Linked DNA regions of Homo sapiens: regions 1, 2 and 3 are each linked to region 4. The links are contacts of gene promoters, found by promoter capture Hi-C in blood cells and fetal thymus (Javierre and others, 2016). All regions are on one chromosome and are shown on one strand. The core of a region is centred on a gene start or on the middle of the fragment in contact, and the rest is flanking DNA. Distances in the headings are between cores, read along the strand shown. Region 1 has its middle 7.4 kb from the start of NEURL3. Region 2 holds the start of LOC105373496 (a long non-coding RNA gene). Region 3 overlaps KANSL3 (KAT8 regulatory NSL complex subunit 3). Region 4 holds the start of LMAN2L (lectin, mannose binding 2 like).

Region 1 (6,217 bases), core at 961-3,460, 230 kb after region 4:
CTGCTCTGCATGAGAAATAGATTTGGGGGTGAGGAGATTTGAATTGGCTCCAAGAGAGGGAGAATGAGGGGGCTGGGGGTGGAGGAAGGCTCTGGCTTATGAAGAATGAACAGTGTGATGTCATGTTGACACAAATATTGCAGGGCCCTTGAAAATAGGGGTTGGGGGTGCATGGTGGCTCACAGCTGGAATCCCAGGACTTTGGGAGGCTGAGGCAGGAGGATTGCTTGAGCCCAGAAGTTCAAGACCAGCTTGGGCAATATGGTGAGACCCCATCTCCACAAAAGTTTTTTAAAAAACTTATCAGGCATGGTGGCAGGTGTCTGTAGCCCCAGCTACTCAGAAGGCTGAGGCAGGAGGATCACTTGAGCCCAGGAGTTCGAGGCTGCAGTGAGCTATGATTGCACCACTGCTCTCCAGCCTGGGTGATAGAGAAAGACCGGGTCTCTAAAAGAAAGAAAGAGAGAGAGAAAATAAATAATGGTTGCCTGAGATTCAGTTTAACTTGGTTCTCTGTGCTGTGAGCTGCACTGTAAGCCTTGCCTCCCTGCTCACACTTTGTGTGACCCTAAACCTTCAGTAAAAGTTGTTGCTCACAAATGTCTGTGTCAGTGCTACCTGAGTAAAATCAAGGGGAAAGAGGCTACCTGGGTGCACTGGGCTGCAGGGAAGAAAACATCCGCAGGAAAGGAGACAAGGAGAAGGAGGGACCTAGTGGGAGATGATTGAATCATGGCGTGGGGGATCTTTCCCGTGCTGTTCTTGTGATAGTGAATGGGTCTCACAAGATGTAATGGTTTTTAAAACGGGAGTGTCTCTGCACAAGCTTTCTCCTTTGCCTGGTGCCATCCATGCAAGATGTGACTTGCTCCTCCTTGCCTTCCACCATGATTGTGAGGCCTCCCCAGCCATGTGGAACCGTAAGTCCAATAAACCTCTTTCTTTTGGAAATTGTCCAGTCTCGGGTATGTCTTTATCGGCAGCATGAAAATGGAGCCTTGCTTACCCCATCCACCCTGGAGTCCCTGGAGCCCTTGAGCAGGAGGCAGTGGGCTTCTCTCTGAATGGAGAAAGAGGATCCAGAGGATCCAGGCAGTCTCCTTACTTCGGCTCAAATAAATAGCACACTACCCTCAGCTAATGCACTCACCTGCAGCCTCCACGCGGAGTGACTCATGCAAACATGCATGCTATGTCTGCAGTTCCATCCAAAGCCTGCAGCCCCACACCCACCCAGTAGCCTCTGACTTAGCCACCTGGATGATCCAGAACAAACCTGAGAACAAAGAAGTGTGGCTTAAAAATGATACATGTCGCCCAGTACATGTACTGTACTTTTGCACATTTTCAAAGGACATGTGAGATTTCACTCAGGACCCTGATCTTTATTTTATTTTTATTTTTATTTTTATTTTTATTTTTTTTGAGATGGAGTCTCTGTCACCCAGGCTGGAGTGCAGTGGCCTGATCTTGGCTCACTGCAACTTCTGCCTCCCAGGTTTCAAGTGATTCTCCTGCTCAGCCTCCTGAGTAGCTGGGATTACAGGTGTGCACCATCAAGCCAGGCTAATTTTTATGTTTTTAGTAGAGATGGGTTTTTGCCATGTTGGCCAGTCTGGTCTCAAACTCCCGACCTCAGGTGATCCGCCTGCCTCAGCCTCCCAAAGTGCTGGGATTGCAGGCCTGAGCCACTGTGCCTGGCCTTATTTTTTATTTTATTTTTGAAATGGAGTCTTGCTCTGTCACCCAAGCTGGAGTGCAGCCGCATGAACTTGGCTCCCTGTAGCCTCTGCCTCCTGGGTTCTAGCGATTCTCGTGTCTCAGCCTCCCGAGTAGCTGGCGTTACAGGCGTGTGCCACCATCACACCCAGCTAATCTTTGTATTTTTTTGTAGAGACAGGGTTTTGCCCTGTTGTCCAGGCTGGTCTCAAATTCCTGGCCTCAAGCAATCCACCCACCTGGCGCCTCCCAAAGTGCTGGGATTACAGGCATGAGCCACTATGCTCGGCCTCATCTTTGTTTTAGAATTAACAAAACGGTGGAGAACTTTGGGGTCAGTCCTGGTTTGACCTATACGAGTCACTCAGTCTTTCTGAGCCCCAGTCCCCATCTGTAATACACCCCAGTCCCACAGCCAGTGGGTGGTAGAGTCCCCACTCTGTGCTGCTGACTGTGCTAGGCTATTTCATGGCACTTGCAAAGGCTCAGCACATCATGGGCCCCCAGTGTGTGCTGACTGTATGGCTGAAAGGATTGATGAGACACTAAAGTCCCCCATGAAGGCACAAACCAGAAGGTAAGTACTCGTCCAGTCACAATGAAAGGAATGAAAGCATAAGGACGGTGTGCATGCACGTGTGGCGCCGGGGACCCATGCTCCAGGTTAGCTACTGGAAGACACAGAGCCTAACCCAAGCCAAGACAACTCAGATACACTGACAGGATTTGAGGACCCTGTCTTTCTTCCCTCCACCGAATATCTTCACACACAAGGAGGAGCAGAGAGAGGCAGCAGCAGCCCAGTCAGGGCAGAGGTAGTGCTTCGCTTCAGAGGGAAGGGTTGACTCTTAGCTTGCTTCTCAAAGCTCAAGTCGGGGGCTGGGCATGGTGGCTCACGCCTGTAATATCAGCACTTTGGGAGGCCAAGGCAGGCAGATAACCTGAGGTCAGGAGTTCGAGACCAGCCTGGCCAACGTGGTGAAACCCCATCTCTACTAAAATTGCAAAAATTAGCCTGGCATGGCGGCATGCCCCTGTAATCCCAGCTACTCGGGAGGCTGAGGTGGGAGGATTGCTTGAACCCGGGAGGCAGAGGCTGCAGTGAGCCGAGATCGTGCCACTGTACTCCACCCTCTTGACAGAGCTAGACCTCGTCAAAAAAAAAAAAAAAAAAAAAAAGCTCAAGTTGGGAGAGGAGAGGCTCCTTAAGACAGAATGGGCTGGAGTCCACTCCACTCTGGCAGGGAACATTTGGCCCTAGCTCTGCCAGGGTGGAGGGGGTGTCAGGAGACCTAGGGAATGGTCAATCCCTGCCTGTGGAGGATGGACTGTGCCCAAGGCCTGGGCAGTAGAGACAATGACAATGGCTGCAATGAGCTTTGACAATGGGCAAAAACTCAGAGGAGTGGAAGGAAGATATTTTCTTCCTCTCTGCGCTATTTTGGCTTTGGTGAGGGACCAGAAGGAACTCCAGGGATCTGGAAAAATTCTACTGGAGAAGTTGGTGATTTGTCCTTCTGGCCAGTAGAGGTGGTTCTCAGCTACAACAGCTCCCCTGCCCACCCACCCACAGTGCCCCCACAGCTGAGTTCCTGCGGGCTGGGTGCCAGGCGATGTGCATGCAGCACATGTGAGTCCCAGGGGCATGGGGTCTCCCAGCGCTCAGAGCCTCCCACCACCCTGCACCCAGGGTGCCATGCCCTCTCTCTTTCCCTGCACCCTATGGCTGCTGTTTTCCCTCAATATCCATTCTCTCCTTCTCTATTGTAATATTGGAACACTCCAATTTCTGTCTAGCTGGGCACATGATTGCCCAGAATGAAGCCTACACTTCCCAGTTCCTTGCAGCTGGATGTGGCCACACAACTAAGCTTTGGTCAATGGGATTCAAGCTGAAGTTTGGGCCATGTGTGCTCTTTCTGGCTGTGCCCTTTAAGGAAAGGGGCATGCCATGGCCTACTCTGGCCCCTTTTCCCTGCTGGCAGGAGGCATAACACTTCTCTTGACCCACCTGTCTGGGGCTGCAGATGCCCCTGTCCAGGAGGTTTGGCAGAGCCAGGGGCTGCCCTAGCCATGCTGGGTTGGAGGTCTCAGGGTCCTGGAGAGGCACAGTGCTTGTGACCTCACCTGAGCGATCCCACACAGGGCTCCACGGGCCCCACCTTGCAGTGAGAGGACTGTCGGGCACAGTGAATGGCCCCAAGAAAGGCACTGATGTCCTCTTCAGTAAGTGGGGGGCGGGGGGGTGGTTTACTGGTAAGAGCAGGTATTTACTGGTTAGTGCAGTTCCCTGTGTGGGAATGTGCTACTCATTACTCATTCAGCCCTCCTATCAGCCCGCACAGAAGGCCTCTTTATTTCCATTTTGCACATGAGAAAATTAAGGCTTAGAAAGTGTTGTTAGCCAGCCCACAGGCTTATGGCTGTTAAAGTCTGGATTTGAACCCAGCTCTGGCTTCAAAATTTATGCAGTTGGTCACTCCATTGTTCTCCTTCCCCAGTAACTCCGAAAGATCCATCAGAGTCCTCCAGCTGAACGACTGGATCCCTGCCTGGCTGATCCCATCCACCACTGTATGACTGATCGCTTCATCTATGTTCCCAGTGCTGTCATCTCACCTGAGCTTCCACTTGGATTCTCAGTTGCCTTTGAGCCACCTGACTTGATGGTTAACAGCTGCCTCAGACACAGCTATCTGCTAGTACTGTGTTCCTCCCAGACTACCCTCAGTAGATCTGTGTCCCTCCCCGGGGCCCTGGCATCACCTCCCACTGTTGCCAGGCTTAGCCTTGGCTCTCCTGGGGTGCCCTTCCCTGCCTCGTGCCCTTATTAACTTCTCACAGTTCCCTTCCCCTCCTTGCATGCTTCCATTTTCTGCCCAATGGTTCTTTCCCCCAAGCAGACAGTTCCAGGTTCCTCAACCCTTGGCTCCTGCTGAGAATCTTTCAGCAATCCCCTATTTGCTATGGAAGAGTCCAGCCCCTCCACGGCACGGCCCCTGTGATCAGGCTGCCTTCCTGCCCCCCTCCCCACAAGTTGAAGGACCACTGCTCCACTCTACCCTGGGCTAGGCAGTGCTGGCTTCCCACCAACATCCAGTTTCTCCTTCTTCCTTAGTGACAGACCCCAATTTTTAGCTGCTCTTCCCGATAAAGACCACATTTCTCAGTTTCCCTTGCAGCTAGCTGTGGCCATGTGACAAGGTTCTGGCCAATGAGCTATAAATGAAAACGTTACATAGGCCCTCCAGTAAATCAGCTTAATTGCAAGCTGGCTTGGCTTAGCTTAGAGGAGTGCCCATTTGAGTCTTTCTCTTCCCTGATGCTTGGAGCTCTGATGTACTGGCTGGAGTTCCAGCAGCACTTTTGGTACATGACGTGACCTTGAGGCCAGTGCTAGAATGGTGGAGCTGAACAGCGGAGAAAGCCTGGGTCCCCTATGGCTGCAGAGGTGTCATGACTAGCTGGACTGCCTGTCTTCAGCTTATTTTATGTGAAAAAGAAATGAACATGCCTTGCTCAAGCCACTGTCCTTTTGGACATTCTCTTGCATGCAAGCAATCCTAATCCTACCTGATACAACCATACAGCACAGATCATGTCTCCTTTCCTATGCTTTTGTGTGTGTATTCCTTCTCCCTGAAATGCCTTTCATTCCTTTCTTGGCTGTTGAAATCCTATTTACCTTTCAGGGCACAATTTTAATAACTCTTCTTCCACAAAACCTTCACCCATTCCCTGGGCATAACAACCCCTCGACACCGCTGGTTTTCCCAGCCCTCAGTTTGGCCCTCTTGTAGCACTTACCTAAATTCCAGGGCATGCACAAAGTGGCTGAAGGATGAGGATTGGGTTTCCTTCAATCTCTGGTTACCCAGAACTGGGACAGTGCTTGGCACATAGCAGGCACTAAATCAATTCCTGTTGAACACACATGCATGCACACATGCACACGCATGCACACGCATACACACACCCCACACAGGGCAGGCACCACCAGGGCAGGTACCAGGTGTCTTTCCAGGACAGACACCCTGACAGTTGTGTATGGGGTGAGGGGGCACGGGAAAAAGGAAAACAAGAAACCAAAAGAAGAGAGGGCACACCTTTCCCTTGACCCTTCCCTCACGCACAGGCATGAGCAGCCACGCCAGGCCTGGAAGCTGTGCCTCTCTCCCCCAGCTCCCCTCTCTGGCAGGCTCCCCATTCATGCCCAGTGGGCGCTCCCGTGCTGGCTGCTGGCGGGGAGAACCAGGAGGGAGGAAGGCTGTGGAGGCGCTCGGCAGAATCAGGACCCAGGAGGACCGCAGCAGAGCGGAAGTGACAGCACAGACCTGTTAATAACTCTGGGCTGGTACTGTGCTACAGGCTGGCCTCCCTCTCCTCCCTCCCACCCCCAAGGCCCCGTGGGGGCTGCAGCTATTGGTCCAGAGGGCTTGTTGGAGTTGTTGGGTGCTCGAGAGGCAGGCCGACTTGGTGGCTGAGGGCGGCGCCTAGG
Region 2 (5,945 bases), core at 814-3,313, 210 kb after region 4:
AAAAAAAAGGAGCAAAAGGAAAGAGAGAAAGAATCGAAGCCTCAAGCGTCACGTCTAGGAATAGCGCTGGAGTCGGGCCAAGTCATTAGAGACGATGAGTAATCTGGTTAAGTCATTTCTCTAAACACCATTCCTTGTAAGAGAATTAAAATATCAGCTTACATCAGAGGGGGAGAGGCAGGCTCCAGAGGCCCAGGCAGGAGCACGGCCAGGAAGGGGGCACGGCTGTTGCGCTCTGCCACTCAGCCCTGCCCCCGGCGGGGGCTGCATGCGGGGCCCTGCCAGCTGAGCCCTGGGCTTGCGGTGGGGGCTGGCATCCAGCTAGCAGGGGTAGGGGGAGCGGCCCGCCACACCTCCGTTTACCTCATTGTTCAGGGTGCTGGGAGAAGTTCGGGACTGCCTGCTCTTGGGAGAATCGTTGTCCCTCCTGGGGGCAGCTGTTTTGTTTTTTTTTTCTTCAGTGTCTCCCCTCCCTCCTAAGATGTTGAGTTGATATCTCGACAGCTTCAGGTCTACCGTTGGAGTAAAGGGCTGGGGATCGGCCTGGGGACACAGGGAATGGAAAGAGGGGTCCCCAAACCTCTGGAGAGGTGCCGATTTCCCCCTAGACTAACTGGAAAGTGGTGAGGGGTGATGCCTTAATTCCTATTTCCCCCTTTTCCCTTTAGTTGCCCTGTATTTGGAGAACGCAGGGCTGGGAATCTGCCAGACTTATGGAGGCGGTGGTGACTGCCAGCGCCACTTTCCGCATCCTGGGGGCAGGATTATGGTGACCTGGGGAGAGCTGCTGATCATGAAGCTGACCCTTGTGGGAGGCAGTGGTGCAAGTCTGTGGTCCCAGTGACTCCGGAGCTGAGGTGGGAGGGGGATCTCTTGAGCCAGGAGTTCAAGGCTACAGTGAGCTATGATCGCACCAGGGCACTGTAGCCTGGGCGACAGAGCGAGACCCCAACTTAAAAAAAAAAAAGATGCCCTCAGGCTCATTATAATGCCTACCCTCTGAGCCAGGACCCACAATGTGAATTGGGTCTCAGCTGTGAGCAGGACACAGACGTCATCTCACCCTCTGTAGCCCTAAAGAGGCCCGGAGACTTCCTAATGGCCTCCCAGCCATTCCTAGGCCGTGTGGAATCACTCAGGTTTATGGTGGCGGGCCCCAAACACTTGAGGCAGGCTCTCACCACATGCTGACTCCTGCAGCGACAGGCTAGGAGAGGTCCATGCCTCCCTGGGAGCTTCTCAGCCAGTCCAGAGAACAGAAACCTCCCCGGCTCTGGAGTCAGGTGGACTGGTTTGCAATCCGGGTACCCTCCCTTGCAGGTAGTATGACCTGGGATGGGTTATTCACTGTCTCCAACCCTTAGTTTTCCCGTGTGAAATGGCGTTAGCAATACCTAGCTTGCAAGATTACTGTGAGGGTGAGAAATAACATAAGCCTTCAACAACTGGTCATTCTATTGTGGCAGCTACCTGAGAACAGCCTCCTTCGCCGGTGGCATCAGAACTTCTGCAGGGTGGATTCTGCACTCTTCAGGCCTTGCCCTGATGACCTGGGGCTGGGCCCTGAGACCCCACTCCCGATCGGGCTTTCCAGGTCTTTGGGTAGCAGCTGCAAAGCCCTCCCGAGGTTCCTGGTGGGGTCCTAGGCTCTGGCCAGGATGCGGGCATGAAGGGAGGAATTATGGGGGAAGTCAGTGACTCATCTCCAATCTGAGTAGGCCCCACTAACCCCTTCAATACTGGAAGCCCAGGCTTTTGGGGGAGGGACTGCTCTAATTCCTCCTCCCCAGATGAACTCATGGGACTTTGCGAATATGAAAACTAAAGCTTTCAGCCTTGCAATGGCCTGGGGTCAGCTGGCTCCAAGAACCCAGATCCCCCAGAGGTTTCATACTCTTGCTGTGGCTCCCCCACACTGCAGCCCCGACCTGAAGCCCAGGCCCCTGCTTTCATCATCGTGGTATCATCCACCAGGCACCTGCCACAGGCAGGGCTACCCTCCCTGCCTGACATCCCAACTACCTTTGTTGGAAACAGTACCTGGCAGGGAGAACCCAAGGTGAACCCAGGTATACGTGGTTCTGTCTACACCCCAAGAGCTCTCTCATTCTCCCCGCACCTGCTGTGCATCCTTTCTGCTGCTGCACGCCCAGATGTGAGTGTGCAAAGCTGTGTACACACGCCTGTGCATCTATGCATGGGTCTTGCCTGCCAGGAGCCCACAGCTCACACATAGGATCACACAAACATATGTATACACTAACTCACCAGAGAGCCTACAAGAAGCCCCTGAAGCTTTTTCTTCCCCACATCTGGGGCACCCTGGCCTGCCCTGGACTCCTAGAAGAGGACACAGGGTTGTCCAGCCCCCCTCCCTCACCCCAGCTGCCCACCTATGCCATGGTGTCTTCAGCCATGGGGCCTGCCTGAGGGATTCTGCTCTGTTAAAACTGCCTTCGCTCTCTCTGCCTTGGCCTCAGCAGGCTCTTCCAGACCTTCCTGAGTGGTAGTGGCCACGGCTGAAGACAGAGGGCTGCGTGGAGGCTGAAGGCAGAGGGCTGGGCCTTGGGCCTGGGTAAAGACAGCTCTGGACATGGAGGTAGGTTGGCATCCCCCCTCTCTGGCACATACGGCAATATAGCCACACTGGGAGGGCTTTGCCCCAGTGCCTGGTGCTGTTTCTGGAGCTGTGTGTGTGCATGGGCTATACCCTCTGGCCTGGAGGAACCTTCCCGGGCTTGGCAGTTCCCACTGTATTTACCTAGTGAGCTTCTGCTCATCCTTCAAGGGCCCACCTGAGGCAGATACCCAGGGGTCTCAACACACACCTCCAGCAGGGCATGTGCCACATCGTGCTCCTGTGGTCAGCCCCATGCCATTGTGTGACTGGCCAGCAGCTCCCGAGCCTCTCGTCTCCAGCTAGGAGTGGTCTTTACTATCTGCCCACACTACGCTGCTGAAAGGGCCGCAGAACCCCGGCCACTGCTCCTCCAGAAGAGGAAACTGAGGGTCTAAGTGGGAAGGGACTTATCCAAGGTCTCACAGTCGCTTCAAAAGATCTCACAGTTGGTAAAGGAATTGGGAAGGAAGAGGAGGAAGTGAGAGGCCACTGAGGGCAGGTGCACAGTAGGTGCTCAATGAAGATCCACAGAAGGAGAATGAAGGGCACGGAGGAGAGGGAGGAGGAAGAGGCCATGCACCCACCTCCACCCCTATCCCACATCTCCCTCCATCACCAGGCAACATCTGCCCTTTCTTCCCCAGGGGTTAGCGCTTCCTAGTTGTCAAGGGCAGCACATTCTAGATGCTGGGGACTTGACCTCACATGCGGCCCTTCTTGCTGGAGTTTCGCTGGAGTCACACCCTCCCTATGGCTGCAGGCTGGCTGCTCAGGCCACAGCCCCTTTCCTGGTTATCTGTGTTGCTGCTGAATCCTGGCCAGGGGTAGTGAACACAGCCCAGGTCTTGGACTCCAGGACAGCGCCCCCTCAGCTCCCCAAGGAGCTCAGAGGTCCCAAGCCCCTGGCCAGCTTGTCTCAGCTGGAGGGAGGTTCTGGGCATCCTGTAGCTGGACTCTGGGGACTCTGAGGCCTGCCTTGGCTGAGAATCTGTCTTGGCACAGATTCTGTGCCAAAGCGATGGGCAAATTTTTCTCCACAGGAAACCCAAGTACCCCAGTGCAGTTGAACTCTCCGTGCTGTCTCCTATCTATGAAACCGGCTGGCAGGCACAATAACAGCCCTCACGCCTCCGGGTGCAGTTACGGGCATTGGATGAGCTATTTCTTATAAAGGGCTTAGAACTGTGCCCGCTGGCGGGAGGAAGTGCTCCATAAACATTAGCTGGTTTCCACAGCCCTGGGTGAAACAGAAGGCACGGGGTGGGCCCAGGCTGGGGGAGTGGGGACAGGAAACCTGACTTCCAGCTCCAGCCCCAGCTCAGCAGATAGGCCATTTGGTTCTGCAAGGCCCCCACCCCCTTGCCTTCCCTCCTTCTGTACGTGTGTGTCATATTTTGTTGGCTTTGGGGCTTTCTTTTCTTTCTTTCTTTTCTTTTTTTTTTTAAATAAACAAGGGCTGCATGAAACCCCTAATATTCTGGGTAAGTGTTGAAACAGCTCAGAAATCCCCTCCTCCCCTTGTGACTCAGTGGCAGGAGCGATAAGCAGAACTACTGGTGACACTGTGGGAGAGAAATTCTGCAAAATAACAGCTGGGCAGCCCGGGACCCCAGGGAGTTGAAATGGGACCTCGGAGACATCAGGATGTCCTGGAGAGGCACCAAGGCCAGAGGTCCCCCAGGGACCGTGGAGGGGGCATTAAGCCCTGAAAACAGATCATGATGCCCATCCCCCCAGCACAATTAGAAATAAAAACAACCCGGGACAGTTAAATTAGTGTAAGGAAGTCCCTCAAGAGTTTTACTTTTCCCGTAACGGCGATTTTCGATGCTCCTTCGGAAACATCAGATTCTTTCCAAGCGTTATTCTTTTTCTATTTTGGTGCCCGAAGTACTAGCGTGGTGGACCAAGCCCCTACACCAGCCGTGAGCGACCCCTGCGGGCTGCCTGGCCCCTGTGGGCACTGGCTCCGGGGATGCGGCAGGGGGCGGAGGGGGCGACACCGGGCTTGGGGGGCGGGCAGCGGAGGGAGGACTGGGGGTGGGGAGGGGGGAGGGCGGGGAGGGCGCCCAGCGGCGCGGCCGCGCCCCCCACCCCACCCCATTCCACCCCCACCGAGGACCGCGCTGGGGTTTCAGAAAGCGCTTTTCTGGCCCTGCCGCCGGATCTGACTCAAAAAGGGGAGCTGGCTCAAACCGAAAGAATAATTCGGTTAGCCAAAGCGCCGATATTTCCCTGGGGCCCAAATGGCTGCCAGGCAGGGGGCTCCAGGGCCGCAGCCTCGCCGGCCCCTCGGGCCCCGCCGAAAGCCCCGGGCCCCATCCATCTTCGCCACCGAAAGGGGCAGGAAGAGCAGCTGAGAGGAGGGCGCCTCCTCCAGCCCCGCAGGCTCTGCTGCCGGACCGTCGTGTCCCTCCCGAGGCCTTCCCCTGCCTGTCCCAGCGGGCCCTGCTCTCTCGGGTTCTCAGGACGTTGGGCAGACCCCTTAGGCCTCTTTTCTAGCAGCACGCACATTCCTGCACACCTCCGCATGTGAAGTTTTTCTGGAAGTATCATGTGGACACTTTTGGAGGCCTACACCCACTCTTAGAGGTGTCTGGCGTCCCATTGCAGGGGCGTTCCGTCTTTTGAAGTTGAAGAATTGTCTTGGACCATACGTAAAATACACTAACACTACCGACAGCCGGTGAGCTAAAAGAAAAAATCGCGAAAATACCTCAGTGTTCTAAGAAAGCTTTATGAATTTGGGCCGCATTCAAAACCTTCCTCAGTCACATGCCGCCCTTGGGCCACGCGTTGGACAAGCTTGCATCCTAGAGACCAATGCGAAATTAACTCGAAAAGAAAGAACCGCTCGGGCCGATTCAACACCCCTGTCACCTATCCTCACCCACGATTTCACTCCCAGGCCCCTTGGCCTGGCGGCGCTTGCCCTTTGGCCAGCGTCCTAGAGGTCACAGTGAGGCCCAAATGAACGGGGTTTTACCGAACCGACATGCCCAGGAGAGAAACATGGATCTATACAGAGAGGCTAATCATTTGTTTCAAGCTGAATTGCCAGGGTGGAGTGGGTGGGGTGGGCCCAGGGGCTCCCCTCCGCTCCCCCCGCAACCCCTGTGTCCAGTCTGAGGTGCCTGTATGCATTCTCTTCAGGTCCCCACCTTCAGTCTGAAGCAGGGAGCCGGGCTTTGCAGGTGCAGAAGCTCTCTGGCTCTGGGAGCCTGCTGGACTCAAGTTCATTCTGACCTCAGGACAGGTGTGGGCAGGAGATGCTGACGGCTGGTTTTCCTGGGCCGCCCAGAACACCTGGCCTCTCAGCTGTCTC
Region 3 (6,192 bases), core at 1,423-3,922, 150 kb after region 4:
TGGCCTTCCCTCCTTTACTACATTCTCAGAGACCTCTTAGGAGTTTCCCAAGGGGGAAATTTAGAAAAGTGGGGAAAGCGTTGGTAAAAAAGGCCACCCTCTCTACTTGCTTCCTTATTCTTAAGCTGCAGGGCTCAACATTGATGGCATCCCCCCACACCTACATGTCTAAGGCCTCAAAATCAGAAGTCACGGAAATCTTCCCTTCTGTTCTGTTGCCCTTAAAAACTCACCTATTTCCTTTTTTCTGCATTCCTTTTCTGTCTTCATGTGTAATAATATGAGGTGACCTTTGTTGTTGAGCACAGATTAAACTCAGGAGCTTTATGTGGATTATTTCATTTAATCCTTACGGTGACCCTGGAAAGTAGATGCTGTCATCTACCTCTTACAGGCGAGGAAAAGGAGGCTCAGAGAACATAGGCACTTGCCTTAAAAAGTGGAAAGTTGAGTCTCTCACTCTAGAGTCCATGTTCTGTTAACCACTTGGCAGCTAGAACATGTGTCCTTGTGTATCCAACTTCTTTCCTATTGAGAATTAATTCTTTAAAATAAATTCTCAGGAGTTGGGATAATTGGGATAGAGGGTCTGAATATGATGATAACCTGTCAAAGCTTTGACCCTTCTTCACTACCTCTCCTGCCACAGCGCCTGCCTCCAGCACCCTGAAGATGCTGTGTGATATGTCCTCCTTACCAAGTTGGTGATGGCTGCCTCATGGTGGGCCCTGGACAGGTGTGTGGTCCTGCTGAGCTGTCCACGTGTCGGAAGACCTGTTTAAGACAGTCATTTTTGCCTCTCCGCCAACTGTCTTCAGAGAAACCATTAGGTTAGGTGATACGGTGCCAGCAAGGGAAGCACCATCGTCCAGGATCTGCAAATCTGGTTCCTGGGAACCCCAGACTCCTCAGCAGATCTGGCTGTACATGGATCAGAACCACTTCTTCCCCCGCTTAAGCTGTGGTTTGACCCAAGGGTCAGCATATAGGACTGCCTGCTGCATTTAATGAAGGTGTTTCCTTTTGGAAGTCTGTGCTACCCTCTGCGCCTAGTTGGGAGGAGACATCCATCTGGTCTGGGATTTCGGGAGTTAGAATGGAAAGCTCTTTGCTAAAGACTGGAGTCATCCTGGCCTGCCAACTGGTGGTTCAGAGCCGGACGGGCTTGTTTTGGACATCACTGTTGCCTTCACTCAGCAGCCACGGGAGAGTGCTCCCCATGCAACTCCACCTTAGAAACCACGTCAGATACTGAGTAGCTTGCTGACTCCTGGAAACTTCTGGTTTTTGTTAGTATCATAATGAAGGCAAAGAGAACTAGGCTGTCATCTTTCAGCCTCTTTGACTTACTCTAGATGTTGGGAGCAGTGGTTGCCAGGTGAAACCTGGGCCCTTTGTCTTTTTCACCATGCTTTGGGCAGTTTCTGTATCCAGAGAGTCCGCAGGTTCAGATAAGCTGAAGAAGAGTAATAGAACAGCAAAGGAAGTGGCTTGAAGGATGTGCTAGTAAGCCCTGTGGTTTGTGCTTAGGTCTCTGCTCTGCTACCCAAGGAACTGGTGGTTCAGCTGGAGATAAAAAGAAGAATTTGCCAAGTCAGAGAAGAAACCCCAACCCCGGAAAATCCTCTGTCTCCAGTCTCTGGAGGTGAAGCAGGGACAATAAGCTAAGGTAGTATCTTGGCCATCCCAGGAAACTTGTGGCATTAGGACGATGAAGGCCATGCTTCAGTGTTTTCGTTTCTATTTCATGAGACTTTTTGTCTTCCTGCTTACAAGTGGGAAGATGATTGACAGTGACTCTACTATGCAGGGCTGTTGGTACCAACCTGAGCCCTATAGGTGGCAGTCCCTGGAGAAGTGGTCACAGAAGATGGAGCTCTGATCCCCTGCTTACCTCTTCACAACACTTGTGTGCAAAGATAGTTTTAGATTTGGTTTAGAAGCTATCCTCCAGAACAGGCTCCCATACTTAGAATGTTTCTAGTTAAGGTAATAAATTAGGCAACCCAAGTGTGACTCCACTCAAGTGTCCTTTTCTGTAGGCAGGAAGGGCCCACAACATGGCTTAAAATGTAGTCCATGGTTCTGGCCCACAGTACAGTGTGTATCTATACCAGGTCACCTGTGTTCAATCTGGGAGCCTTCCTGGCCAGTCTGAGTGGCAGCCAGAAGGGAGCTCATAGTGTCTAGGAGTCTCAGGCAAGGTAGGTCAGGGTACTGTGGGCAGGGGGGATGTGTGTGATAGGAGAGGGTACCCTAAACCCCATACCTTCCCTCCCTGACCTGAAAAGCTGATCTCAACAGGGATTCACACAGAATTAGGCTGTGTTTTTGCATTAGCTGGTAGGTGACTTTCTCAAAATTCTTAAATTCAGAAAGTATTTAGTAAACTTGAGGAAGGTATGAAATCTGGAGGAGGCATCCAGGACCCAGGGGTTTGATAGCTTTACAGGTAGGATCATACCACACCAAAAGAGCAGTGGACAATAAGACTATATGAGCTATATGAAGCTTTTAGGAATCATTTAGGACAGACAGAGCCCTAAACAACCCATTCATGACTTAAGTTGTTGGCTCAGTGTATGCTGGGGACAAAGAAAAACTAACAAGCCGACCTGCCTTTATGATAAATTCTAGTGTGCTTACAAGGGATGACTTCCTGAGGTGTGATCTGTCCACCTTGAAGAACTCCACAACTGAAGAAGGGGAGCTGTGAGAACGTGGATTGTTCTACAACTTGCACAGGGTAACAGAGGAAGTGGCTGAGGCCTAGAGTCACGTTTTCCAGTTCCCTTCGCAAACTATATTTCTTGGAACGCGAAAGGAAGCTTTACCTATTTCATAGAAGACCTGGAATCCATAACCTCAGAAGGCAATATTATTGATAGAAAATGTGGAAGGATCAGGAAGTTCTTAGATTCTTGGATGACAGATGCATGTTGATGCCCTATGGAGATGTCCTTGTGTTTTGAGGTCACTGAGGTAGGAAGACCTGTCTACTCTTGGTTTCACCACTAGAACAGTCTTGGGCTGGATGGGTTATAGAGCTGAGCGGCTGTGATGGTTCTGTTTTTACATTAACAAAAACAATTAAAAACACCAAAAACAACATTTGGATTGCTTCAGCTTCTTTTCAGTTGACTTCTCATATGTATTCTGGAAACCACCCAATGAAGTGGGCACCAAAGGTAGAGCTAAGATATTGTAAGGCCAGTGATCATCACCTCACCAATGCCAGGTGGTATGAGGGGGTACTGTAATTTCCTTTTTTTTTTTTCGAGATGGAGTCTCGCATTGTTATTTGGGCTGGAGTGCAATGGCGCGATCTTGGCTAACTGCAACTTCCGCCTCCTGTGTTCAAGCAATTCTCCTGCCTCAGCCTCCCAAGTAGCTGAGATTACAGGCGCCCGACACCACGCCCAGCTAATTTTTTGTGTTTTTAGTAGAGACAGGGTTCCACTATGTTGGCCAAGCTGGTCTCAAACTCCTGACCTTGTGATCCGCCCGCCTCAGCCTCCCAAAGTGCTGGGATTACAGGCGTGAGCCACCACACCCAGCCTGTAATTTCCTTTCTATAAGTGAGGAAACAGGCACAGAGCAGTCAAAACAGCAGGAAATGGCAGAAGCAGTACTGGAACCCAGACAGTCTGATGTCAGTGTCTTTTCTACTCTGCATTGTGCTAGGGTTCTAAGATGGGAGACTGGAGGTAGAGATTAACCCAGGAGGTGAGGAGATGGTGGCTTGGCCTGCACGTGACCTTTTCAGTTTACTTCCCACCAGGCCAAGAGTAATTGATGTTGATATGGTGGGGCTCTTGGCTGAGCCTACGTCAGTAGGTGGGGTCCCTCAACCTTGATCCTGAAAGATCAGTATCCTTTCGCACTTCCTATACCTCCACCCACCGCCAATAAATACATAAAGATTTAGAGATGAATGAATGAATTCCAACCTCTAGATTATTTGTTAACTTGTATTCAGGAGGACCTTCCTTCTAACCCCTAAATTCCAGGTCACTACCCTTGGCATTGGAGCCCTCTGGGTGGAGGCCATAGTTCTGGTATGCTGCTTGGAGTGTCCAGTATACCTGGGCACATCGTGTTACCCTCCTTAGTAGACATCTGGTTTGCTGTCTTCTCCCTCAAACTCTAGTCTCACTGACTTGAGCAGTCAGGTCAAGCGAGATGAGGATTAGATTGTTAAAATGACAGCTCTCTGAAACTTCAGGGGTATGGGGACAGGGCCATAGCAAATAATGATGCAGACAAGTCTTTTTTACCTTTTTATGTCTTTTTCAAGCACACATTTTGGTCAGGGTTGATGGCTGCAAGAAGGAGAAACCTATTCACCACCAAAATAGCTCTGAAAGGGAATATTCTCTCATTAGGCATTTTTATAGACAAGGAGCCTCACGGTTTTGGTACTTGCCTCGTGACCTCAAGTGGCTTGGACTTGCCGGGATCCAGTTTTGATCCTATTGTCACAGGACTTTTTAGCTGCAGAACCCTTTATGGATGGCTGGTCTCTTTCATTCAGTTCAAATTCTGAAGACAGCCTGATTGGCTCACTCTCACTTGTGGGTTGGTTCTCCTTATCTCTTCCCACCCAGTCCAATCATAGTATCCAGAAGATGAAGTCATGTGGTTCATATCATTACTTTTCTAAGGAGAAGTAGATGGATTTAAACAAAGCAAAACACTGCTGGACTGTTAGATATGTGTGTTTTTAACCTGCAATTGTAGTATAGTATAACACCCTTCACCAAGTTTCCCCAGTACTTACATCTCACTTAACTATAATACAAAATTAAAACCAGGAAGTTGGTACAATGTGTGTGTATAGTTCTATGTCATTTTATCGCTGTAACCATAAACAAAATACAGAATGGTTCCATCAGCACAAAGATCTCCCTCATGCCACCCCTTTATAGTTGCATCCATCTCCTTCCCCACCATTCCTGACCCTAGCAACCACTAATCTCTTCTACTTGTCCTAAATAGGTTGATGTATAAATAGAATCTTACAGTGCATGGCCTTTTGAGATTGTCTTGTTTTCATTCAATATCATTTCCTTGATACACATCCAAGTTGTTACGTGTATATGAGTAGTTCATTCCTTTTATTGCTGAGTGGTATTTCATGGTATGGGTTTAGCACAGTTTGTGTAACAATTCATTCACCTATTGAGGGACATCTAGTTTGTTCCCTGTTGGGGGCTATTACAGATAAAGCTACTGTGGCAATTGTGTGCAGTGGTTTTGTTTTGTTTTGTTTTGTTTTGTTTTGTTTTGTTTTTTGAGACGGAGTCTTGCTGTGTCGCCTAGGCTGGAGTGCAGTGGCACGATCTCAGCTCACTGCAACCTCCACCTCCCTGGTTCAAGCAATTCCCCTGCCTCAGCCTTCTGAGTAGCTGGGATTACAGGCACACACCACCAGGACCGGCTAATTTTTTTGTATTTTTAGTAGAGACAGGGTTTCACCATGTTGGCTAGACTGGTCTCAAACTCCTGACCTCAGGCAATCCTCCTGCCTCGGCCTCCCAAAGTGCTGGGATTACAGGTGTGAGCCACTGTGCCCAGCCAATTGTATGCAGTTTTTAAAATGAGAACATGAGTTTTCATTTCTCTCTGGTAAATAACCAGGAGTGTGATTACTAGGTCATATGTTAAGTTTTTAATTTTTTAGGAAACTGCCAGCCCAGCCTGATGGCTCACACCTGTAATCCCAGCACTTTGGGAGGCCAAGATGGTAGGATTGCTTGAGCTCAGGAGTTTGAAACCCCCTAGGCAACATAGATAGACCCTGCCTCTACAAAAATACAAATTAGCCGGGTGTCATGCCGCGCACCTGTAGTCCCGGCTACTTGGGAAGCTGAAATGGAAGGATTGCTTGAGCCTGGGAGGTCAAGGCTGCAGTGAGCTGTGATCGTGCCATGGTACTCAATCTGAGCAACAGAGTGAGACCTTGTTTCTAAAGAAAAAAAAAAAGAAACTGCCACTGTTTTTCAGAGTAGTTGTACTATTTTACATTCCTATCAGCAGTGTATGCGAGATTCATTTTCTCGGCATTCCTGCCAGCATTCTATATTGTCTCTTTTATTATTTATTTATTTTTATTTTATTTTTGGGAGACTGAGTCTCATTCTGTCGCCCAGGCTGGAGTGCAATGCGCAATCTTGGCTCACTGCAACCTCT
Region 4 (6,635 bases), core at 1,114-3,613:
TTAATTTTTGTATATATATGTATATATATATTTTTCGAGACGAAGTCTCACTGTGTTGCCCAGGCTGGAGTGCTGTGGTGCGGTCTCGGCTCACTGCAACCTCCGCCTTCTGGGTTCAAGTGATTCTCCTGCCTCAGCCTCCTGAGTAGCTGGGACTACAGGCGTGTGCCACCACGGCTGGCTAATTTTTTGTATTTTTAGTAGAGATGGGGTTTCACCATGTTGGCCAGGATGGTCTTGAACTCCTGACCTCAGGTGATCCGCCTGCCTCCCAAAGTGCTGGGATTACAGGCCTGAGCCACCGTGCCCAGCCAAGACCCCATCTCTTTAAAAAAAATAGCTGTGACAGCTTTAATTTTAAAAAGTTGATCCCCTGTAAAGTAGGCTCATAATTATGTTTATCTTATTAAATATATTCATGCTCAGGAAAGCAAGAGAGTGTTAACTTTGGTTAAGTCTATTGGGAAGACATAAACACAGATCTGTCAATTGCTCTATATGAGATGTGCATGGAACACTTTGAGAGCTCAGACAGGAGAATCTACCCTGCCTGAGAGGTTTGAGAAGGACCTCCAGAAGGAAGTGGACTGCAGAAAAAAAAAAGAGGGAAGGGAAGCTGGAGCATAAAGATGGAGGAAAAGAGTCATGGGCAATAAGGCCAGGGCCAGATGGCAGGGGGCTTTGTGTGCCAAATTGAGGGGCTTGAATCTCCTCCCCACAGGTGATGGTGAGCCATCAAAGGCCCGGTTAATAAGAATGATGATGATGAAATAGCGCTTATGGCTTGGTGCGGTGGCTTACACCTCTAATCCCAGCACTTTGGGAGGCTGAGGAGAGAGGATCACTGAAGTCTAGAAGTATGAGACAAATCTGGGCAACTTAGTGAGACCTCCCCCACAACCCCATAGCTACAAAAAATAAAAATTAGCAAGGTGAGGTGGCACACACCTGTAGTCCCAGCTACTTGAGAGGCTGAAGTGGGAAGATCCCTTGAGTCCAGGAGGTTGAGGCTGTGGTCATGCCACTGCACTCCAGCCTGGGTGACAGAGAGAGACCCTGTCTCAAAAACAAAAACAAAAACAAAAACAAAAAAAAAAAGAAAAGAAAAAAGAAAGAAATAGTGCTTACTACACGCAAGGCACTGTTCTAAGAGGTTTACCAATATTGACTCATTTAACCCTGACACTTACCATGGTTAGATAGTTTGGATCACTTTAGTGGCTACGTGGAGACCAGTCTGGACACATGTTGTGGTGCCGGATAAAGACGAAGGGATGTGCCTGTAGTCCCAGTAACTCAGGAGGCTAAGGTGGCAGGATCACTTCAGCCAGGGAGGGAGAGGCTGGAGCTGAGATTGTGCCACTGCACTCCAGCCTGGGCAACAGAGCAAGACCTTGTCTCTCTTTTTTTTTTTTTTTTTGAGATGGAGTTTTGCTCTATGTGGCCCAGGCTGGAGTGCAATGGCTTGGTCTCGGCTCACTGCAACCTCTGCCTCCCAGGTTCAAGCGATTCTCCTGCCTCAGCCTCCCAGTAGCTGGGATTACAGGCACGTGCCACCACGCCTGGCTAATTTTTTTTTTTATTTTTAATAGAGACGGGGTTTCTCCACCTTGGTCAGGCTGGTCTCGAACTCCCAACCTCAGGTGATCCGCCTGCCTCGGCCTCCCAAAGTGCTGGGATTACAGGCGTGAGCCACCGCGCCTGGCCAAGACCTCGTCTCAAACCAAAAAGAAAAAAAAGAGGAAGGGAGGAAAGGAGGTGATGGCTTTTAGAATTAATTAATTTGTGTGCTTTCAGTTCTTTTATATCTGTAGGTTGCTTGATGGCCCAGACTATCACGGCAAAGGAGTCATTTGCATTTGAAGAGAATGTGTCTTCCGCAGTTGTTAGGTGGAGTTTCTATAAATATCATCAGGTCAAGTTAGTTGGTAGTGCTGTTCAAGTCTTTTATAAATTGATAGTTTTCCAGCTATTTTACGGATTTGTCTATTTCTCCTTTCACTGCTATATCTTCCAAATTGATTCAGAGAGCTGCAGTCAGGAGCGTACTATTGCAGAGAGGATAGAATGTTTGGGACCAGAAGAAACGTTTTATCTCTTTAAATTTACTCTCGTACGCAGAAAACAAAATACAAATAAACTACGTATCCCAGCAAGCCTAGTGGAACTCAGGGCAAATGCAAATAAGGGGGGGGGCTGGGCATTCGGCTACGCCCCTTTTCTGGGTTGGCAAGGCAACTGATACAGAAGCCAGCCAATCGGTGATATAGTCACCTGCAGGGGCGGGGGCTTGACGAAAGCCAATAGGACGCAGGGCAGATGGCTCTTCGGGCCAATGGGTTGGGCGACGGGGCGGGCTTTTGATGAAGGGTCGTTGGTGGGAAAGATGGCGGCGACTCTGGGACCCCTTGGGTCGTGGCAGCAGTGGCGGCGATGTTTGTCGGCTCGGGATGGGTCCAGGATGTTACTCCTTCTTCTTTTGTTGGGGTCTGGGCAGGGGCCACAGCAAGTCGGGGCGGGTCAAACGTTCGAGTACTTGAAACGGGAGCACTCGCTGTCGAAGCCCTACCAGGGTGAGGCGCCCAGGGTGAGGTGGTCGTGCAGTGGGGCGGGCTTCGGGACTTGATTTCAGGGGTAGAGGCGGGGGCGGCGAAGGGCTTCGTGGCCCGGAGGAAACTGCTGGCGGTGGTGGGGCCCACGGAGACTCCCTCCGCGTTTGGGAGCCACAGGTCTGAAAGGCAGGAGTTAGGTGTGCCTGCCAAGCTCTGGAAGTTTCCAGTAGGTAAAGGCAGGGCTGTCGGGTGCCACTAGTACTAGGCCTGGAGTTAGACAGGAGGAGTTTGGGAAGGGGAGAGAATTGAGAATGGTGAGGAGTGATTGAGGGCTACTAGCAATGAGCCAGTCTCCAGATGGACCTGTGGATGTGCTAGAAATAAAGCAGGAGGAAGAACTGGGGTAGAACTTGAACGAAATGAGAAGATGATAAATTTATGTTGCTGGGTAGAACCACCTTCTCTTCTCCAGCCTAGGGGCCCTGTTGGTGAAAGAGGTTAGGGTTCACAGAACTCTAAGCACAGCTTATCAGCCAGAAAATTAATGCAGTTAGCCACAAAACGATGACAAACCAGTGCAGATGGCTTAACTAACACAAGTCTTTCCCCACTAAGGCGTAGGTAGTGGGACAGAAAACAATTCAAAGTGCAAGAGTATACTCTACTACTAAGGGTAATCATTTATTCACTTACATGCCTGGAGTGCCTCTGTGCTGTCTCTTTGCTAATGCTTATGGGTTTGCAGACACAAAGTTTTCATTCTTAAAGAAGTTTATAGGTGAGGGTACAGGGAGTAGCTTCACACTTTAAGGATTGTTTAAAGAAAGAATGTGACGGCTGGGGCGGTGGCTCACGCCTGTAATCTCCGCACTTTGGGAGGCCGAGGTGGGCGGATCACGAGGTCAGGAGATTGAGACCATCCTAGCTAACACGGTGAAACCCCATCTCTGCTGAAAATACAAAAAAATTAGCCAGGTGTGGTGGCGGGCGCCTGTAGTCCCAGCTACTCAGGAGGCTGAGGCAGGAGAATGGCGTGAACCCGGGAGGCAGAGCTTACAGTGAGCCGAGGTCATGCCACTGCACTTCAGCCTGGGCAACAGAGCGAGACTCCATCTCAAAGAAAAAAAAAAAAGGAAGAATGTGACTAAGCCCCGGAGGCCTGAGGGTCAAACTCTTTTTATTTATATTTATATATTTTTAGAGACAAGGTCTTGTTCCGTTGCCTAGGCTGGAGTGCAGTGGCACAATCATGGCTCATGCAGTTTCAATCTCCTGGGCTCAAGCGATGCTCCCAACTCAGCCTCCTGAGTAGCTAGGACTATGGACAAGGACTACCACACCTGGCTAATTTTTTTTTTGGTAAAGACAGGGTCTTTCTATGTTGCCCAGGCTGGTCTCAAATTGCTGACCTCAAGATGCCCTCCCTCCACATCATCTCAAAGTGTGGGGATTACATGGGTGAGCCACTGCACCTGGCCTGTCAAACTCTTTTTGATATAACTCAGGAAAATTTTTTTCTTTTACGATGCTGAAGTTTACTCACATATAAAACGGGAAGAATGGATGTGAGCTATGGTTACTGTAACATGCATAAAGTGAGAGTTCTGATGTGCTTTGGGGTCCTTACCTGATAAAGGCCTTGTGAAAGCTGTAGAGATGGTAAGATTCATGACTGAGAGAAGATAGGAGATTGAGTGACATTAAAGGGGGAAAAAGATGATGGCTCAGCTTTCAGAGGCTCTGTGGTGGCTGCTTTCTGAATGGATTGGTGTTGAAAAGTATGAACTGATCTACTTCCTTCCTGTAGGTGTGGGCACAGGCAGTTCCTCACTGTGGAATCTGATGGGCAATGCCATGGTGATGACCCAGTATATCCGCCTTACCCCAGATATGCAAAGTAAACAGGGTGCCTTGTGGAACCGGGTGGTAAGAATCTTTCTCCCTCCTGTGTTGGTGACCCAGAAAGGCCTAAAAAGTTCAGCAGTGGCATACTGATTTAATTTTACTGTCTATCCCCCTGGTATTCTATCTTCTGTGGATATCAAGGATCTTTATTTTTGAGATTATTCTGACCTTGATAATAAATAAATCAGGTATTTAGGAAAATGCTCTCTATTTAATTATAGCAAATAATTCATTTTTTTTTCCTGAAATGTCGTTAATTCCTGATTGGCCCAATAGTACTACTTCTTAGGGTTTAATAATAACTTAACTCCTGCTTAACCACTTTGTAAGAAGATTATAAGAAGACCAGAGTGCAGTGGCACAATCATAGCTCACTGCAGCCTCAAACTCCTGGGCTTAAGGGCTCCTCCTGCCTCAGCCTCCTGAGTAGCTGAGACTACAGGCATGTGCCACTGCACCTGGCTAATTTTTAAAACGTTTTTTGTAGAGATGGGGTCTTGCTATGTTGCCCAGGCTGGTCTCAAACTCTTGGTCTCAAACAATCCTCCTGCCTTGGCCTCCCAAAGGTCAGGGATTATAGGTGTGAGCCACCGGTCCTGGTTGAGAGTACTCTTAAATTGATCCCAAACCTTATCCCAGCATCCCCATCTTGTTATTTCAATTTGAAGAGTCTGATATAAAATTTTATTTTCATGTGAAAGCCACTCTGAGCTGTTGGTCATTTTATTTGTCCTTCTCTGGACCTTTTCTAGCTGCATTGTCTTCCTTGAGGTATGGCGACAAGAAGTGAATGCAGTATTCCTGGTGTGGCTGCACTGTGATTTTGTACAAGTGTAAGATGATGCTTTCTTTTCTGTTTCCAGGGCTTTCTAAATCTTTTACGACCAGTTTACTTTTGGGCATGACTCTGGCATCCTTTGATACTTTCTCTGGAATTCTCTTAAACTAAGAACTTACTTTTTTACGTGGCTTTTCTCATTAGTTGTAGATAAGCGAATCTCAGAAAAGAGAACGATTTCTTTTCCCTGTTCAGGAGGGCAAGAGAAATTTCTACATTAGCTATCTGCACAAACTGGCCCCTTAACCTAGATCATAGTGCCGAGCTCATTTTTGGACAGAGTACAGAGCATTGTGTTTTCGTAGCAGAGATAAAGGACAGTTGAAAGACTGGGATTCTCGGTCCAGCTCTGTCACAGTCCTCCTGTGAGCCCTAGGCAGATTATTTAACTTCTTAGTTCTGTTTCTCTATCTGATAAATGAGCTTCAGAATACCTGTTTTACTTGCCCACTGGGGTTGTCGTGAGAATAAAATAGGACAATAGACATGAAAAGACTGTGGCAAGTTAAAATGGTTATAGAAATATGTGTTATGTTATTACACTTCTACAGGTTTGTTGATGGGGCTCTTGTGGGTTACCGGATGATTATGTTCAAGGCTTGATACTCTGCTGCTGTCTTGCTGGCTGTCTGTCTCTACATAACTTGTAGCAGCAGTTCTAGTATAGCCTCTAGTTCTTCCCTTTTTCGACTTCTGATACCTGTATTCGCTGTTATCTGGCTATCACCATGACTATGGGCTTGTTTCTGAGTTATTTGAATAGGATGCATTTGTTTCAGCAGTGGTTCTCAAATTTGGCTATCCATTGGAATCAATGCCTGGGTCTCATCCCCAGAGATTCTGATCTAATTGGAATAGGGTGCAGCTTGGCCATTGGGATTTTTTAAAACTCCGTAGGTGAATCCAGTGTGTGGCAGAATTTCAGAACCACAATTAGACATGGTCCTGAGCAAAACAGTATAGCATTGTGCTGTAGGAGGCCAGGAATCAGTGACAGACACCTCTTGGCTCACTGGGAACTTCTGTGACTCTGCCCTCTTCCCAGGGGCATAATACCTACCTCCTGGCAGCTTCCTGCCCCACTGAATTTCACTCTTTCTCTGAAAGCTATTTTTTTGAAACAGGGTCTCATCACTCTGTCGCCTAGGCTGGAGTGCAGTGGCACTATCACAGCTCACTGCAGCCTGGACCTCCTGGGCTCAAATGATCCTCCACCAAAGCCTCTCAAAATGCTTTGATTACTGGCGTGAACTACTGTGCCTGGCCTTTCTCTGAAATCTTTTTTTTTTTTTTTGAGATGGAGTCTCGCTCTGTCGCCCAGGCTGGAGTGTAGTGGCATG

Evidence for each region. Contacts are between HindIII fragments. The CHiCAGO score rates a contact against its expected background, and 5 or more counts as called.
Region 1: a fragment that was not itself captured here is called in contact with the fragment with the promoter of LMAN2L in region 4 in 2 of 17 cell types (neutrophils and naive CD8 T cells); the score reaches 7.9 in neutrophils.
Region 2: a contact is called between a fragment that was not itself captured here and the fragment with the promoter of LMAN2L in region 4, in 1 of 17 cell types (megakaryocytes). The highest score is 5.4, in megakaryocytes.
Region 3: a contact is called between a fragment that was not itself captured here and the fragment with the promoter of LMAN2L in region 4, in 15 of 17 cell types (M1 macrophages, M0 macrophages, M2 macrophages and 12 more). The highest score is 12.6, in M1 macrophages.

What each region holds. Positions count from the first base shown.
Region 1 is chr2:96,509,658-96,515,874 of GRCh38, reverse strand. No RefSeq gene overlaps it. Among named protein-coding and RNA genes, the nearest start is that of NEURL3, 7.4 kb to the right of the region's middle. The HindIII fragment of the contact is 2,764 bases long and covers 829-3,592 here.
Region 2 is chr2:96,526,388-96,532,332 of GRCh38, reverse strand. It overlaps LOC105373496 (a long non-coding RNA gene), which reads left to right and starts at 27. Exons shown (of 3, transcript NR_135564.1): 1 at 27-106; 2 at 2,484-2,599; 3 at 4,150-4,393. RefSeq lists enhancers at 1-33, 1-531, 532-1,323, 3,534-3,683 and silencers at 234-313, 4,544-4,643, 4,794-5,133. The HindIII fragment of the contact is 468 bases long and covers 1,830-2,297 here.
Region 3 is chr2:96,590,089-96,596,280 of GRCh38, reverse strand. KANSL3 (KAT8 regulatory NSL complex subunit 3) reads left to right here. Exons shown (of 21, transcript NM_001115016.3): 21 at 650-3,109. The coding sequence ends at 670. Among named protein-coding and RNA genes, the nearest start is that of KANSL3, 45 kb to the left of the region's middle. The HindIII fragment of the contact is 317 bases long and covers 2,514-2,830 here.
Region 4 is chr2:96,735,792-96,742,426 of GRCh38, reverse strand. It overlaps LMAN2L (lectin, mannose binding 2 like), which reads left to right and starts at 2,363. Exons shown (of 8, transcript NM_030805.4): 1 at 2,363-2,573; 2 at 4,360-4,478. The coding sequence starts at 2,387. RefSeq lists enhancers at 2,110-3,047, 3,048-3,987. The HindIII fragment of the contact is 9,784 bases long and covers 1-6,635 here.